5 separate regions of the Homo sapiens genome follow, and regions 1, 2, 3 and 5 are each linked to region 4. The links are contacts of gene promoters, found by promoter capture Hi-C in blood cells and fetal thymus (Javierre and others, 2016). All regions are on one chromosome and are shown on one strand. Each heading gives the region's core, a stretch centred on a gene start or on the middle of the fragment in contact. The rest is flanking DNA. Distances are from core to core; before and after follow the strand shown. Region 1 overlaps CREB3L2 (cAMP responsive element binding protein 3 like 2). Region 2 overlaps ZC3HAV1 (zinc finger CCCH-type containing, antiviral 1). Region 3 has its middle 2.5 kb from the start of ZC3HAV1L. Region 4 holds the start of TRIM24 (tripartite motif containing 24). Region 5 overlaps CREB3L2 (cAMP responsive element binding protein 3 like 2).

Region 1 (2,700 bases), core at 89-2,588, 520 kb after region 4:
TAACCTGGCTGGGGCTAGCAATGTGGGATAACAGAAAGCCAACCGGGGCCCTTTACTCCCCACTGCTCCAAGATAGTCTGTCCTGAGCAGGCCTCAAAGCTCTTGGATTCTGGTAGCACTTAGAGATAGAAGAGGGTTCATTGCCTCAGCTGGTTGAGGTTTATGAGAGGAAGGAACATGCAGGAGCGGACAGCCAATGGCTACTGCGCTCCCAATAACTGCGGTTGCTAACTGGCTGGCCACGATGGAGATAAGAACTCTGTGGATGTCTGGGAAGTCACTTCCGTGTTCATAGCCTGCACATGGTTTTCTTAGCCAGTTTTCATTTACCATAGCACCATCTTGTATCTGGATTAGACTTGTATCGATGAATTCATTTTTATCTTCACTACAGTTTTGAAAGGCAGATTGGATTTCTCATTTTCTAGTGGTGTGGAGAGAACAAGTGATTTGACCCAAGGTTGCTGCTAGGATCTACAGAGCTGATGTAGACTATATGCCTTCTGTCCCATGAGTCCGGTGCATAACACAAGGGTTTCAAAGGCTAAGATCCCCTGGTATGTCTCAACACATGTCATTCCAGAGAGGTGGGGCATACATGTGAGGTCTCACAGAGCAGGAGCCAAAGTGGCTAGAAGCCAGAACCTTCCTGGTCTCCCATTTGCTGACCTGCGGGATTCCCTTAGCTCTTATCTTGGGGTGGAGGGGTACCTCCTGGCAGAGTCATGCCTGAGCATTTAAACAACACAAACAGTACTTTGTACCTCTCAAGCACTTTCCCTTTTCCCCAGTGTGGCCCTCTAGGGATGAGATTATCTCAGTAATGCTTAAGACATATTTGGCTCATAAATAAAGCATAGGTTTCTAGGAAGCATGCATGCCGTTCATTTTTTCCCACAAACTTCATCGCCCGTTAGTGTTTCATACCTGATGTTTTTGGCATTAGATCTTGACTTGGAGGCAGAATTGTTCCATTGCAACATGCACGTTCTGTTCAGAGAATTCTGTGGGGGTCGTCTGTGGAACACTTTTCAGTCACCCATTTGGTGATCTTTATGTCTGGTCACCGTTTCTCTTGTTAGAGAGTCTGTAGTGTAGATTTCAGTTCTCAACTCTTTGATTTCATGTGCCATTTTGGACCTCAGTTTTCTCAAATTAGAGTGACCAGGTCAGGCCAGATGATATCCAGTGTTTCCTCAAGCTTCACTAGTCTGTGATTTGGAGCCTGCTGTAATCCAAAATTTTTCTGGAATGAATGGCAGAGTACCAGATTGTATTCTTTTAGGGTAGGATGCAAGAGTGTAGGAATAGTAAATACCTTAGCTTGTGCCTTCACTGAAAGATATGAGGGAATGTCCTGGGTGTCCCCTGGTGAGGTAAAGACTGAAATGGAGATGGAGAGTGTATACTGTGGGAGAGGGAATGGGGATGCCTTCTGTTTAAGAGAGTGGAAGATACCAGAGAGGAGAAGCTTATGACTGCAGAGAGGGCAAGAGACCTCATTACAGCAGTCTGACCAAAAAACCCTCCAAATTTCCTTATATAATGAGCATGTAAAAGGGTTGAAAACTGCAAATTGAAGGATAAGGGACAGAAGGAGGGATATCAACAACACCAATTAGGAAGAGTATCTAGAGAATTTAACTGGGTAGTAAGAAATTTAAATCTACTTTAACTCTCACTGTGGGGAATTTGGACATAGGCTGAGTTATGTAGGAGGCTCTTAAGTGTGGGAGGGTTAAAAGCAAACATTTTTTGGCCTTGGCTTGTGGGATAGATCAGGCAAAAAGCCCCGCTGGGCCTCCAGCACTCCCATCCAAGATTGCGGGGGTAGAGTCTAGACTCGGGGATAGAAGTGGAGAAAAGGGAGAGGGAAGAATTGGTGGTCCTGATGGCAGCTGCTTTCAGCATCCCAGTCTCTGTGGCTTCCCCACTATGGATGACAAGAACAGAATCACAGGTTCTGTACTGCCTCAGCCTTGAACGGTTGACTTGATCATGGCTTTGATGGTCTTTCACTTGTTGGTGAGATTCAGCTGTCTGTTGTGGCAGAAGGAAGGGGCAAGAGGACTCGGGGATGGTTTGAGTTTCTTGAAGCATATCAGAGGACTTCTCTACCTGATACGGGTATTTCTGGAACAGCTCTGTCTGCTCTAAAAGGATCCTGAGGATTTCCTTCATTGACATGAGGAGATTGCCCTTCTCTCAGGCCCAAGTTACAATTCAAAAAGCATTTTTGGGGAACAATTAGAAATCTGAGCTCCAAGTCCTCTGTGTTAGTGATTGAGAGGCAGCAGGGACTATGCCGAACGTGCCTGGGAAGGGGTCCTGCCCTACTCCAGGCTGCCCCACTGTCTCTACCCTCGGGATAATTCTCCGTCTTGTGAGGATCAGATACAGTCATGGTGTGCAAGTGTTTTGTCATATGTAAATACTATGCATTGAATATGGAAGGTGCTATTATTATTAAATTTTCTTCGCATTATTTTTATTCCTGTTGGTACTTGTTGGATACTCTTGGGCCATGGAAGGACAGGCCCTACTAGGCTAGAGGCTAATTTGGGTTCAGAAAGAATGAAGAAGTGCATTTTGGGGGTATTTGCAGCTATATGTGTAAATAAGCCAAGAAGTAGGCAGATTGAATTTTTATGTGCTAGCTAATTCTGAATCTTGCAGCTCTCCTTTGTTATCAGGAGCCAC
Region 2 (2,700 bases), core at 17-2,516, 610 kb before region 4:
CAGCTATATTCAATTTTTTTTCAGCAAACATGTACTCCAATTGCAGTCATACATTAAAGTATATATTAATTTTTATTTTTATTTATTTATTTATTTTTGAGATGGAGTTTCACTCTTATCACCCATGCTGGAGTGCAATGGCGTTATCTTGGCTCACTGCAACCTCCATCTCCTGGGTTCAAGCGATCTTCCTGCCTCAGCCTCCCGAGTAGCTGGGATTACAGGCATGCACCACCACCACACCCAGCTAATTTTTGTATTTTTAGTAGACATGGGGTTTCAACATGTTGGACAGGCTAGTCGTGAACTCCTGACCTCAGGTTATCCGCCCACCTCGGCCTCCCAAAGTGTTGAGATTACAGACGTGAGCCACTGCGCCCGGCCATATATTAATTATTTTTAAGGAACCGCTTGAGACATGTCAGCTGCACTTCCCTCTTTCCTCACCATGAGAGGGGAGGGTGGAACCTTGAGATAGCTTTCTATGTATAAACACATAAAATGTACAGAGACTACTGCTTTGAGCTGGAAAAGAGGGTGAGAGTGAGAACTTAAAGGACTGTATGGATGATGGCATGGTTAATTAGACCAGGGAATGTGTTAATTCACTCAAGCAGTGAAACCACATCTGGTACAGATAGTCACTACTATTCATTCAGAGTCTGGATTTAGATGGACTTAAAGGACTGGAACTAGAAGATCCTAGGCTGACCCATAGTGGGGGCATAGTAATAGGGAGGGAAGTTTAGGTGAGCAGAGCCTCTGTCCTTCTGTCTCAGTGTCCCTTCCTCCCTTTAACTCATAGGATTAAAGAGAGAGAGAAAACAGACCTTAAGCAGGTAATGGAATCAGGGTGATGAGAAACAGAAAATGAAAGCAAGAGATTAAAATGAAGCCAAAAATAATGCATGGGCTGGGTGCGGTGGCTCACTCCTGTAATCCCAGCACTTTGGGAGGCCGAGGTGGGGTGGATCACCTGAAGTCAGGAGTTCGAGACCAGCCCGGCCAACATGGTGAAACCCTGTCTCTACTAAAAATACAAAAAATTAGCTGGGTGTGGTGGCGCGTGCTTGTAATCCCAGCTACTCAGGAGTCTGAGGCAGGAGAATCGCTTGAACCTGCAGGCAGAGGTTGCAGTGAGCCGAGATTGCACCACTGCACTCCAGTCTGGGTGACAAAAGTGAGATTCCAAAAAAAAAAAGATAATGCAGGGACAAAGGAATGGCAGCGTAAGGTTCTACATATTTAGGTTGGTGTAAAATTACTTTTGGGTTGGTGGTAATTACTTTTAATGGCAAAAACTGATTACTTTTGCACGGAACTAATAATTACGAGTCAGTGGGCTATACATTTGGCTCTGAGCTGCCTAACTGCCAAAGCAAACAAAATACTTGGGAGAGGCACTACTCTGTTATGTTAGTGAGGCCTGAGAAAAACACCTCCTATAGTGGGCCACATGGCGGGAACCCTGTGTGCTGTGGTGAGGTCCTCAACCACAAACAGCCCTACCATGAATTCAGCAGCATATTGGTTTCCAAACTGTCTTAGCAGCAGATACATTTTATCAAACCATCTTTCAAAGACTCTAAACGAGCCAACTAGAGTAGAGCAGGGCTGCCCTGGTGGAATAGGATATGGGCTCAGAGCTGTCTCCTGGACCCCTCCTTGTTGCTCTTCTCTCTCCTGTGGTGGCCCATGTAGCATCTCTGTGGAACAGAGTTCTGCTGAAACTCCCGTGTGTGTGAAAACACCTATGATATTAAACTTTGCACAGATTCTTTGTATGCTCAAGCCAAGGATGATGTCAAATAAGCGATTCTGTCAGGCGCCTGTGGAAATAAAATTATAAACCCAAATTAATTAGCCTTGGTTAAAATAAAAATAAGCTATAGGTCTTGATGGTTTTTATGTCAAATAATTGGAATTTTTAGTAAGATATAAAGGGGAAGGGTTGGCAAACAAACATTTGCATTCTAGTTACATCAAGGTTCCAGGAGGCCGGGCGTGGTGGCTCATGTCAGTAATCCCAGCACTTTGGGAGGCCAAGGCGTGTGGATCACCTGAGGTCAGGAGTTCAAAACCAGCCTGGCCAACATGGTGAAACTGTGTCTCTATTAAAAATACACACAGAAAATTAGCTGGGCTTGGTGGCGTGCACCTGTAATTCCAGCCACTTGGGAGGCTGAGGCAGGAAAATTGCTTGAACCAAGGAGGTAGGGGTTGCAGTGACCCGAGACTGTGCCACTACGCTCCAGCCTGGGTGACAGAGTAAGACTCCAAAAAAAAAAAAAAAAGGTTTCAGAAACCAAAAGGAACTATTTGGGGGAAAGATACTGTATTTAAATTTAAATTTACACAAGTTCAATCATGTTCTCTAATAAAACATCAAGAAACTTCCTGAGCTTTTTTTTTTTTGAGACAGAGTTTTGCTCTTGTTACCCAGGCTAGAGTGCAATGTTGTGATCTCGGCTCACTGCAGCCTCTGCCTCCCAGGTTCAAGCAATTCTCCTGCCTCAGCTTCCCCAGTAGCTGGGATTACAGGCATCCACCACCATGCCTGGCTAATTTTTTGTATTTTTAGTTGAGACGGGGTTTCACCATGTTGGCCAGGCTGGTCTTGAACTCCTGACCTCAGGTGATCTGCCTGCCTCTGCCTCCCAAAGTGCTGGGATTACAGGTGTAAGCCACCGCACCCAACCC
Region 3 (2,700 bases), core at 61-2,560, 580 kb before region 4:
TATCTCACTGCCTATGGACATCCCCCGCTGATTACAATTCCCCTTTCCTTTATATTCTTTCTTTTTTTCTTCTCTCTCTCCTTCCTTTTCTTTCCTTTCCCTTCCTTCCTACCTTTTTCTGTCGCCCAGGCTGGAGTGCAGTAGCACGATCTTGGCTCACTGCAGCCTCTGACCTCTTAGACTCAAGCAATCCTCCCACCTCAGCCTCCTGAGTAGCTGAGACTACAGGCACATGCCACCATGCCTAGCTAATTTTTGCATTTTTAGTAGAGACAGGGTTCTACCATGTTGCCCAGGCTGATCTCAAACTCCTGGACTCAAGTGATTCTCCTGCCTCAGCCTCCCAAAATGCTGGGACTGCAGGCATGAGTCACCGCACCTGGCCTCCTTTATTTTCAACTTTCCATTCTTACTAGCTCTTTCTTTTCTCTTTGTTTTGTTTTTGAGACGGAGTTTCACTCTGTTCTCCAGGCTGGAGTACAGTGGCACGATCTTGGCTCACTGCAAGCTCCGCCTCCTGGGTTCACTCCATTCTCCTGTCTCTGCCTCCCGGGTAGCTGGGACTACAGGCGCCCGCCACCACGCCTGGCTAATTTTTTGTACTTTTAGTAGAGATGGGGTTTCACCATGTTAGCCAGGATGGTCTCGAACTCCTGACCTCGTGGTCTGCCCGCCTCGGCCTCCCAAAGTGCTGGGATTACAGGCGTGAGCCACCGCGCCCGGTCTTACTGGCTCTTTCTACTCAGCATGTAACTATGCTTGTCTCTCCTATAATAAAATACCTTTCTCAGTCTTGTGTCTTCCTCTTATTATCATTACCTTACTTACTTTTAGAAGTAAAGTCCTCGGTTTTTCTATTCTTCTTTTTTTAACCTACAGAAATCTACCTTTTCTCATTATTCCTCTGAAATAAACCTGCCTAGGTTATCACTGTCTACAAGCTTTCCCTTGTAGGAAAGCTCCTCCCTGTAGTATCTCACCATGCTGATCACTTTCTCCTTGAAACTCTCTCCTCTGCGTGTCCATGAATGACTCTCATTTTTCTCTAACCTCTCCTTATCAGTTTATATGTTAGGCTATGTTCTCTCAGGAGCAATCTGACAAGGATTGAATGCACACAGTTTACTTGGGAGGTGATCCTAAGAAACACTGGCAGGGGAATGGGGAGGTAGGGCAAGGAAAGGAAGGAAGACTGTATGGGGAGTGCTAATGAGCAGGTGTGGCTGTGGGCAACTGGGGTTCAGTTCCATTGAGGAAACATTGGGAGACCATGGAATGTACACCTCCAAGTGGTTCCACACGAGGAATGAGTTGGGCTGTTTGATCCATTGTTGGGGAGGAAAAACTTTTCCTGCACTCTCTTATGTTCAGTTCTGAGGGGCTGCAAATTTAACTGACAAGAGAAAAAACATATATGCATATGGCACTGCACAAAAGAAGTGATGATGATTTATTTACCTAACTTAATAGGGGAGAGAGGGGGGCAAAAAGGCTCCTATGGGAAGAACAAAGGGGTTTCTAGGGAACAAACAGGAGATAAGGAAGTTTGTGTTCATAGGGAAGTTGTTTATGCAGGTGCACGTGGTTTTCTATTTCATGTCCATAAACCCCTGGAGAGGGGATGAATGGCAACCTCACTCCCAGAAGATTCTGCTTTTACTGAAATAAAGGAAGCTTCAAGAAGGCTTCTTTTTGCCTCTATTGAATCTTACATGTCTTTAGTTTAAAATAATCCTCATGCCAATTTTAGGGTTGAGAGTGCATCCTCAAACCACCAATTCCCCAACATCCCTGGATGAAGGCTCTTCCTGGAGGTGTTGGCTCCTTGGTAATTCCAGCCTGCCTTTCCTGCTGGCTGCTTCCTCCTTCTGTTGGAAAAAGCTTAGGCAGAGAGTTCAGGAACAAATGCTGAGTGCCAAGGGGACGTAGGCTACTGCCTATTTTTCTCTTCCCCCACTTGCTTATTTAATGTGGGTATTCGCCAAGCTTCTTTCCCCCCGTCCCCCACCTTTTCACACTCTTCATTTTTGCCAGGTGATCTTATCAACTCTCAGTTACCTAATGCTCTGATGTCACGCAAATCTACATCCCTTCCCTTCTCATGTCCCTCAAGGTCTAGACCTGTATACAGAATACACCTGCCTGTTGAGCGTCTTACCTTGGGTTGTCCACTGCAAACTCTCAACATAAATAACACTGGGGTTATAGTCCCTCAAATCCTGTTTATTTTCTGTTATTCCCCACCTCGTCTTGCTTTTCTAGAAATCCATTCTTCTCATTGCTGCCAGGGGTCTTTCTAAAACACCTATCCTACAATATGGCCAGGTACTATTTTAGGTGGTAGGGATACAGCAATGAACAAAACAAGGTTCCTGCTTTCATGAGCCTGAATTCTATAGCTAAATATATAAATACACAATAAAGAAGAAAAATATCAGTGGTAAGTTCCATGCAGACTGGGGAGCTACTTTAGATTTGAGAGGTCAGGAAAGGTTTTGCTGAAGAGAAGACATTAAAGCTCAGAGCTGAATGACACACCTTGAGTGGCACTCAGGAGACATCCACACTTCCCAGATGAAAATCCTTTAGTGACTTCCCAAAGTTCTCGGGATATAAGTCCAAATTTCACAGCATGGCAGAGAAGGTCTTCTGGCATCTGGCCAGTTGTCTTCCTCTCTAGCTTCTTTACATTACATGACA
Region 4 (2,700 bases), core at 84-2,583:
ACCCAAATCACTTTGTATTATTTCTCTTCGCCGTCTCAAAATAAAACCTTTGAAAGAGACACACAACAAAACAACGTCTCTTGGTTCCTTTGTCCCCAGCAGAGGAGAGGGAAGAGAACTGGGAACTCATTAAGGTAAAGAGCCCCAAACATGCAAGATAAGAAATAAATGACATCCGATCTGCAATCAATCATCAAAGAAAGTCACCATCACTTCATCTTCATCCCTCCCTTCTCCCCTGCAGCTCAAATAACGTGAGTATAGACGAGATGATCAGGATCATATGGACCTGGACAAAGCTTTGTGGAGGCAGCGGGCGGGTAGCAGTTAACTGGCTGCAGCCGGCAAAGAACCCGAGATTCCGGCTGCAGGAGACTCCGACAGAGGTCTGCAAAAGTGCGAGTGGCAGGGGCCGCCCGGCTGTTGAGAATGCGGAGCAGCGGCGGCGGCGGCGGCGCGGTCAAGTCCACAGCGCCCGGGGAAGTTGCTGGCCGAGCGCGACACGCCGCAGAGCGCGGGCCCTCCATGTCACCGTCGCCAGCACAGACCCTCCTGCTCGCCCCTCCCCCGCCGCGCACCCCGGGCGGCGGCGACATGACAGCGGGTCGCGCCGCACAAGGGCGCCCGCCCCCTCCTGGCCCTCTCCCCGGGCTCCCCAGCGGCCGCGGCCGGTTCTCACCTTGGGTGGCGAACGGCGACGAGCCGCTGACCGGCGAGCCGGGGGCAGGGACGGGTGGCGGGGTCTCGGCCGAGCCCAGCATGGGCGCGGGCAGCATGAGGTAGCGCTGGGGCGCGGGCAGGCAGCGCTGGCAGAAAGAGTGCAGGCAGGGCAGCAGCTTGGGCGCCCGGCTCTGGATGTTCTGGTGGCACACGGCGCAAGTGTCCAACAGGTTGAGCCGGGCCGCCTCGCCGCCGCGCTCCGAGTCCGGGCCCTGCCGACTCTCGGCCTCGTTCTCCCCGCTCGGCGCCGCCGAGGGCCCCCCGGAGGCCGCAGCCGAGGCCGCTGCCGCCGCCGCCACCGCCTTCTCCACCGCCACCTCCATTGTCCTGCCCTTGCCGCCGCCGGGGAAGCGAGAGCGCGGTCTCCGCCCGCCGCCCCCGACGACCTCCTCCTCCTCCTGCGGCTGCTCCTCAGAGGCCGCTCGGTGGACTCGCGGCAGCGCCAGCGAGGGAGGGAAAGCAAACCGGGCGGGGGAAGCCTCCTCAGGCCCACGGGATCCGCCTCCCGAGTGGCGCGGCCGGAAGGAGGGTATCTGTCAGCGGAGACCGTTCCTCGCACCGGGGAGGCTGCACCCCGTCCGCTTCGCCAACCGCCGAGGCGCTCGTGGAATACGCCCAGCCCGCCCTTGCCTCCCCGCCTTTCTCTTCATCCCCCTGGCCCACCTCAGGCCCCGCCCCCGCCCCCGCCCTCCCTCTCCCAGCAACTGAGGCTTCGGTGTGGAGCGCGCCGCCCAATAGCGGCCGCGCCTGGCGAGGGGGCGGGACCTGTTGGAGCCCGCGAGGCTCCGTCGGCCGCGGCGGGAGGTTGGGAAGTGGGAGGTGCTTGCCCAGCCCCGCCCCCTCCGGACGCCTGAAATCGCGGCTTCTGATTGGGCCTTTGTGTATGTTTCCTCCTCTGAAAAGATTAAGGGTTCATTTGTTAACGACCATCCGCCTGATTCGGTCCGCGGTGTTAGCTCCTCCTAGGGGGCGGGACCTCACTTGTCTACTCAATGCCGTTAATTAAGTAACTGCTTGGAAAACTGATTTCATTACTGGAGACCTGGTCTTGTAGGAGGAGTAAATATGGTCGGAGGGTCACAGGAGGAAGGAGTGGAGGTACTGAAGAGCAAACAAGGAAATAATTTTTTAAAATACTGTGTGAAAGAGGTACTCTGGAGGCAGCAGGGATATTGCAACCTAATTTTACTCATCTCTAGAATGAATGAGTATGAAGAATAAGGGGGGGAAGTTCTCGTGCAAGTTGGAAATTTTTAAAGGGTTTCCCCAATGAAAAAGGTGAAATTAATTTTTAAAGTCAGTGATTTGCTTTTTAAGTGACTAAAAGTGGTTCGTTTTCCCAGGAATTAATACAGATTGACAAATGTTTTTATTGCATAAATATAGCATCATTAAGCAAAAATAAACCTCAATACTGTTACCCAAATAATTCATAACTTCAGGATTCTTTTGTATTTCCTCCCTCCCTCTTATTTTATTCCCTCCCTCCCTCCCTCACCTCTCTACGCTGATATCAGAAGTTACGCACATTTTTCACTCAAAAAATGGCGCAGCTTTTAAGGAACTTGAAGAATAGAAACGGAATGAAGGAAACAAGATTTTGTAACACGTAACTTTAAGAAGTATTTACCTTTTTTTTTTTTTTTTGTCAATACTAATGAAGCGGTACTGGACTTTAGAGAAAGATGGAGTGGGTCATGAAAGGCTTTGCTAAAATCACAGTTTTCCTGGAGGACTATATGGGATGGCAATGGGGGAGGGCTAGGCAACGTAGCCTTCCTTCAAGACCTTGCCCTTAAACACAACCTCCGTAGGCCTCAAGTGAGAGGTTCTTTTACTTAATCACAAGACATTCAACAGCTCTTCCCGCCTCCCCCACCCATTGGTTCCTGTTTAAGCTTGGGATTTTTTGTTTGTTTGTTTTTTTGCATGGAAGTAGCTCTTAAACCTTAGTTTGCATAAGAATAACTTGAGAAGCTT
Region 5 (2,700 bases), core at 196-2,695, 540 kb after region 4:
TCAGTGATAGATGGGGAATTAATATTTCATTATACCTGGGAAAGCCAGTGATTCAGCTCTCACTGTCCAATTGTACTTAGATTAAATACAGTTCTTCTGCAATTGCTTCTAAGCCTGGAAAAAGAGTGATGACACACAGTTAAGTGGAAACTCCCTCCTAATTTATTAGAGTTTTTCTCCTTTTTTCTCCCTCTGCCTCCTGCTTCCCCTCTCTCCTTCTCCTTCCCACTAGAACTCTTCTCTTTCCCTCTTCCTCCTTTGCCCTTTTCCTCCTAACTTTCCCTTCCTCCCTCCATCCTCCACCTGAACCCCAGGACAACTGAAAAGGGCACACACAGATGTTCTTATCCTATCATTCTATCACAGACTTCAGATGAACTGTGGACCCCTAAAACTGTATACAAAAATGTGGGCTATCTACATTTGTTAATTTTTTGAGAGTTATTATATCATTTCTTAGATTCTCAAAAGAGTTTGTGACCAAAAAAAGTTAAAAATAACTGTTCTAAGATTCCACAGGAATCATCTGTCTCAGGGGGACTTTGTAGACTTCTGAAACACTAGAGCTAAGGAACTTCATGTGGCCCAGCCACCACAGGAGCCAACCCTAGAAATGTAGGTGCAGCCTTCAAAACCCCCAGAAAGACATCCTGCATCCAGCTCAGCCATTTCTCCCTGTGATTAAGGCTGTGAACCAGATGCTAAGCAAGGTTTTCTGTTCTACAAAAAAGGCAACAACAACAAGAAAACACCAAAAAAAAAGGAAGAAGGAAGAAGAAAAAAAACATGTCATGAGGTTAAGAGAGAAACGCAGAAGCATCCCAGCAAAATATTTATGATACTTTTATGCTTTGAGAAACAAAAGCTTGTATTTGAATGACCAAGTCTTGTACCTCACCACATGGAGGTTGTCTTTATGAGTTACTATATTTCAGTCATGTTCCTTTGTGTAATTCAGTTGGGATGCTAGGTATGCATTTGCATTGTCCTTTAATTTTGGTGTTCTTCCTAAAGAAGAAACTAGTGCTGGATGAGGGCTGTTCAGAGAGAACCAGACATGGCCCCTATCCTCTAAGATGATACAAGAACAGAGCTAAAGATTATATAGACTATCAACAGACCTTAGCATAAAATAGGCTAATACAGAAGTGGTCTAATACTACCTTTGCATCACAAATGTAGTCAAGGGTGGAACAAAGGACCGTGACTATGGCTGTCCCAGGTCTACACAGGGTGGGCCAGGAACATGGATAAGAATCATCTTCCTCCTGATGAATTTAGTAGGGCTTTCAGTGGCAAGGGATGGCTGGGTAGGCTGGTTCACTACAGATACCTTAAATTTATGGAGCTGTGTTCTCAGGTGGGAATGAACACAGTAGTCTGTGAGGTAAAGGTGAGCGGATATTGCTGGAGCAAAGTCACATGGGGTAAGTGGGACAGGCTGGAGAAGGGCAAGGACTAGGGTTTTATCTCTGCCTGATGGGAAGCAGGGACTGAGAAACATAGGATCACATTTTTTGGAGCTTAGATGAAACACAGAAGATCTTATGGCTGCCATGCGAGAACAGGGAAGGTGTGCACTGATATAGTTATCCAGGGAGAAGTGGAAAGGTATATAACATGATGGCAAAGAAAAAATGGGTTTTGAAATGATTTGATGAAACCTGCAGCAGGAAAAGCACAGGATCGAATATGCTGAGGAAGGGGCAGAGATGAGTCAGAGATGACTTAGGTTTTTGCTTTGCAGTGTTGAAGAGATCTTGATGTTGACATGGTCCATAGAAGTGAGACTTGAAAATCACAGAAATGAGGTGCATAACGGTGTCTTCATCACATATAGCGTGAGCTGATGACAAGAACATCACTCTGAATCATCGTAGAGTAGCCAGACTCAGGGGTAGAAGAGAAAAGTATGTGTATCTACTGAGTCACTGGGTCCTCTGTCATGCACGGCCAAAGAGAGAACCTGACAGTGATTGGGGAGGACAGGCAGAGGAACAGTTGACCTCTTCCATCTGAAGCTTGGGTTTGTAATACACGCTATTTTGCTATTCCTCCGCTTTTTTGGTGTTACCTTTTACTTTTTTCCAAACAGATAAAAACAATAGTGATGTTTCCCCTTTTTATTTTTTGAAAAAAGTAAAATAATGACTTCTCTGCGTAGCCATTGCAGTGCTAGATTAGTATAAGAAAGCAATGTTCACATTAATCCAGCGATTACAGTTACTTTGGATATTCATACATGAGAGTCATAACTTCTCCATTGAAGAAAAAAGGATGTAGTAAATATTTTCTGTTTCTACTACTATCACCACCTCTTCATGCCATTCAATACTGAAAGTTATTTCAGGGTTAAGATACTCAGGAACGGGCCAGGGGGAGATAGGCCTGTAACTTCCATTGGAGCATGTAGTGGGCTGTAGTTTAATATGATTCTGACACATTTAACTGAATTCTTGCCCCTTTCCCCAGCTTCCAGAGCCTAGCCATTATATTTTTCCTTTAAGAGATTTTTACATAAAAAAATTGTTCAAGATTTGCCAACTCCTTTGAAAATTCTCAAAGGGCAAACAAATGAAATGCTAAAGGATTTAGATGAGGCATATTTATTTAATTTATAAAATTTTCTTTTCACTTTAGATATGTTACATAAATAGTAAATGGATGTACGGTCCGCCCTCCCTGTGCTTGGGTTTTGCA

The links. The method cuts DNA at HindIII sites, captures the fragments that hold promoters and counts their contacts. A CHiCAGO score of 5 or more calls a contact.
Region 1: a contact is called between a fragment that was not itself captured here and the fragment with the promoter of TRIM24 in region 4, in 1 of 17 cell types (total B cells). The highest score is 7.6, in total B cells.
Region 2: a fragment that was not itself captured here is called in contact with the fragment with the promoter of TRIM24 in region 4 in 2 of 17 cell types (total CD4 T cells and naive CD4 T cells); the score reaches 6.1 in total CD4 T cells.
Region 3: a contact is called between a fragment that was not itself captured here and the fragment with the promoter of TRIM24 in region 4, in 1 of 17 cell types (fetal thymus). The highest score is 5.4, in fetal thymus.
Region 5: a contact is called between a fragment that was not itself captured here and the fragment with the promoter of TRIM24 in region 4, in 2 of 17 cell types (naive B cells and total B cells). The highest score is 6.2, in naive B cells.

Annotation. Positions count from the first base shown.
Region 1 is chr7:137,938,939-137,941,638 of GRCh38, reverse strand. The region is part of intron 1 of CREB3L2 (cAMP responsive element binding protein 3 like 2); the gene reads left to right. Among named protein-coding and RNA genes, the nearest start is that of CREB3L2-AS1, 13 kb to the left of the region's middle. The HindIII fragment of the contact is 270 bases long and covers 1,204-1,473 here.
Region 2 is chr7:139,070,698-139,073,397 of GRCh38, reverse strand. The region is part of intron 7 of ZC3HAV1 (zinc finger CCCH-type containing, antiviral 1); the gene reads left to right. Among named protein-coding and RNA genes, the nearest start is that of MIR10399, 28 kb to the right of the region's middle. The HindIII fragment of the contact is 5,327 bases long and covers 1-2,700 here.
Region 3 is chr7:139,037,210-139,039,909 of GRCh38, reverse strand. No RefSeq gene overlaps it. Among named protein-coding and RNA genes, the nearest start is that of ZC3HAV1L, 2.5 kb to the right of the region's middle. The HindIII fragment of the contact is 733 bases long and covers 944-1,676 here.
Region 4 is chr7:138,458,892-138,461,591 of GRCh38, reverse strand. TRIM24 (tripartite motif containing 24) reads right to left here and starts at 1,333. Exons shown (of 19, transcript NM_015905.3): 1 at 680-1,333. The coding sequence starts at 1,043. RefSeq lists silencers at 462-941, 972-1,221, 1,282-1,671 and enhancers at 1,182-1,964, 2,368-2,700. The HindIII fragment of the contact is 2,319 bases long and covers 302-2,620 here.
Region 5 is chr7:137,922,708-137,925,407 of GRCh38, reverse strand. All of the region lies in intron 2 of CREB3L2 (cAMP responsive element binding protein 3 like 2), which reads left to right. Among named protein-coding and RNA genes, the nearest start is that of CREB3L2-AS1, 29 kb to the left of the region's middle. The HindIII fragment of the contact is 1,156 bases long and covers 868-2,023 here.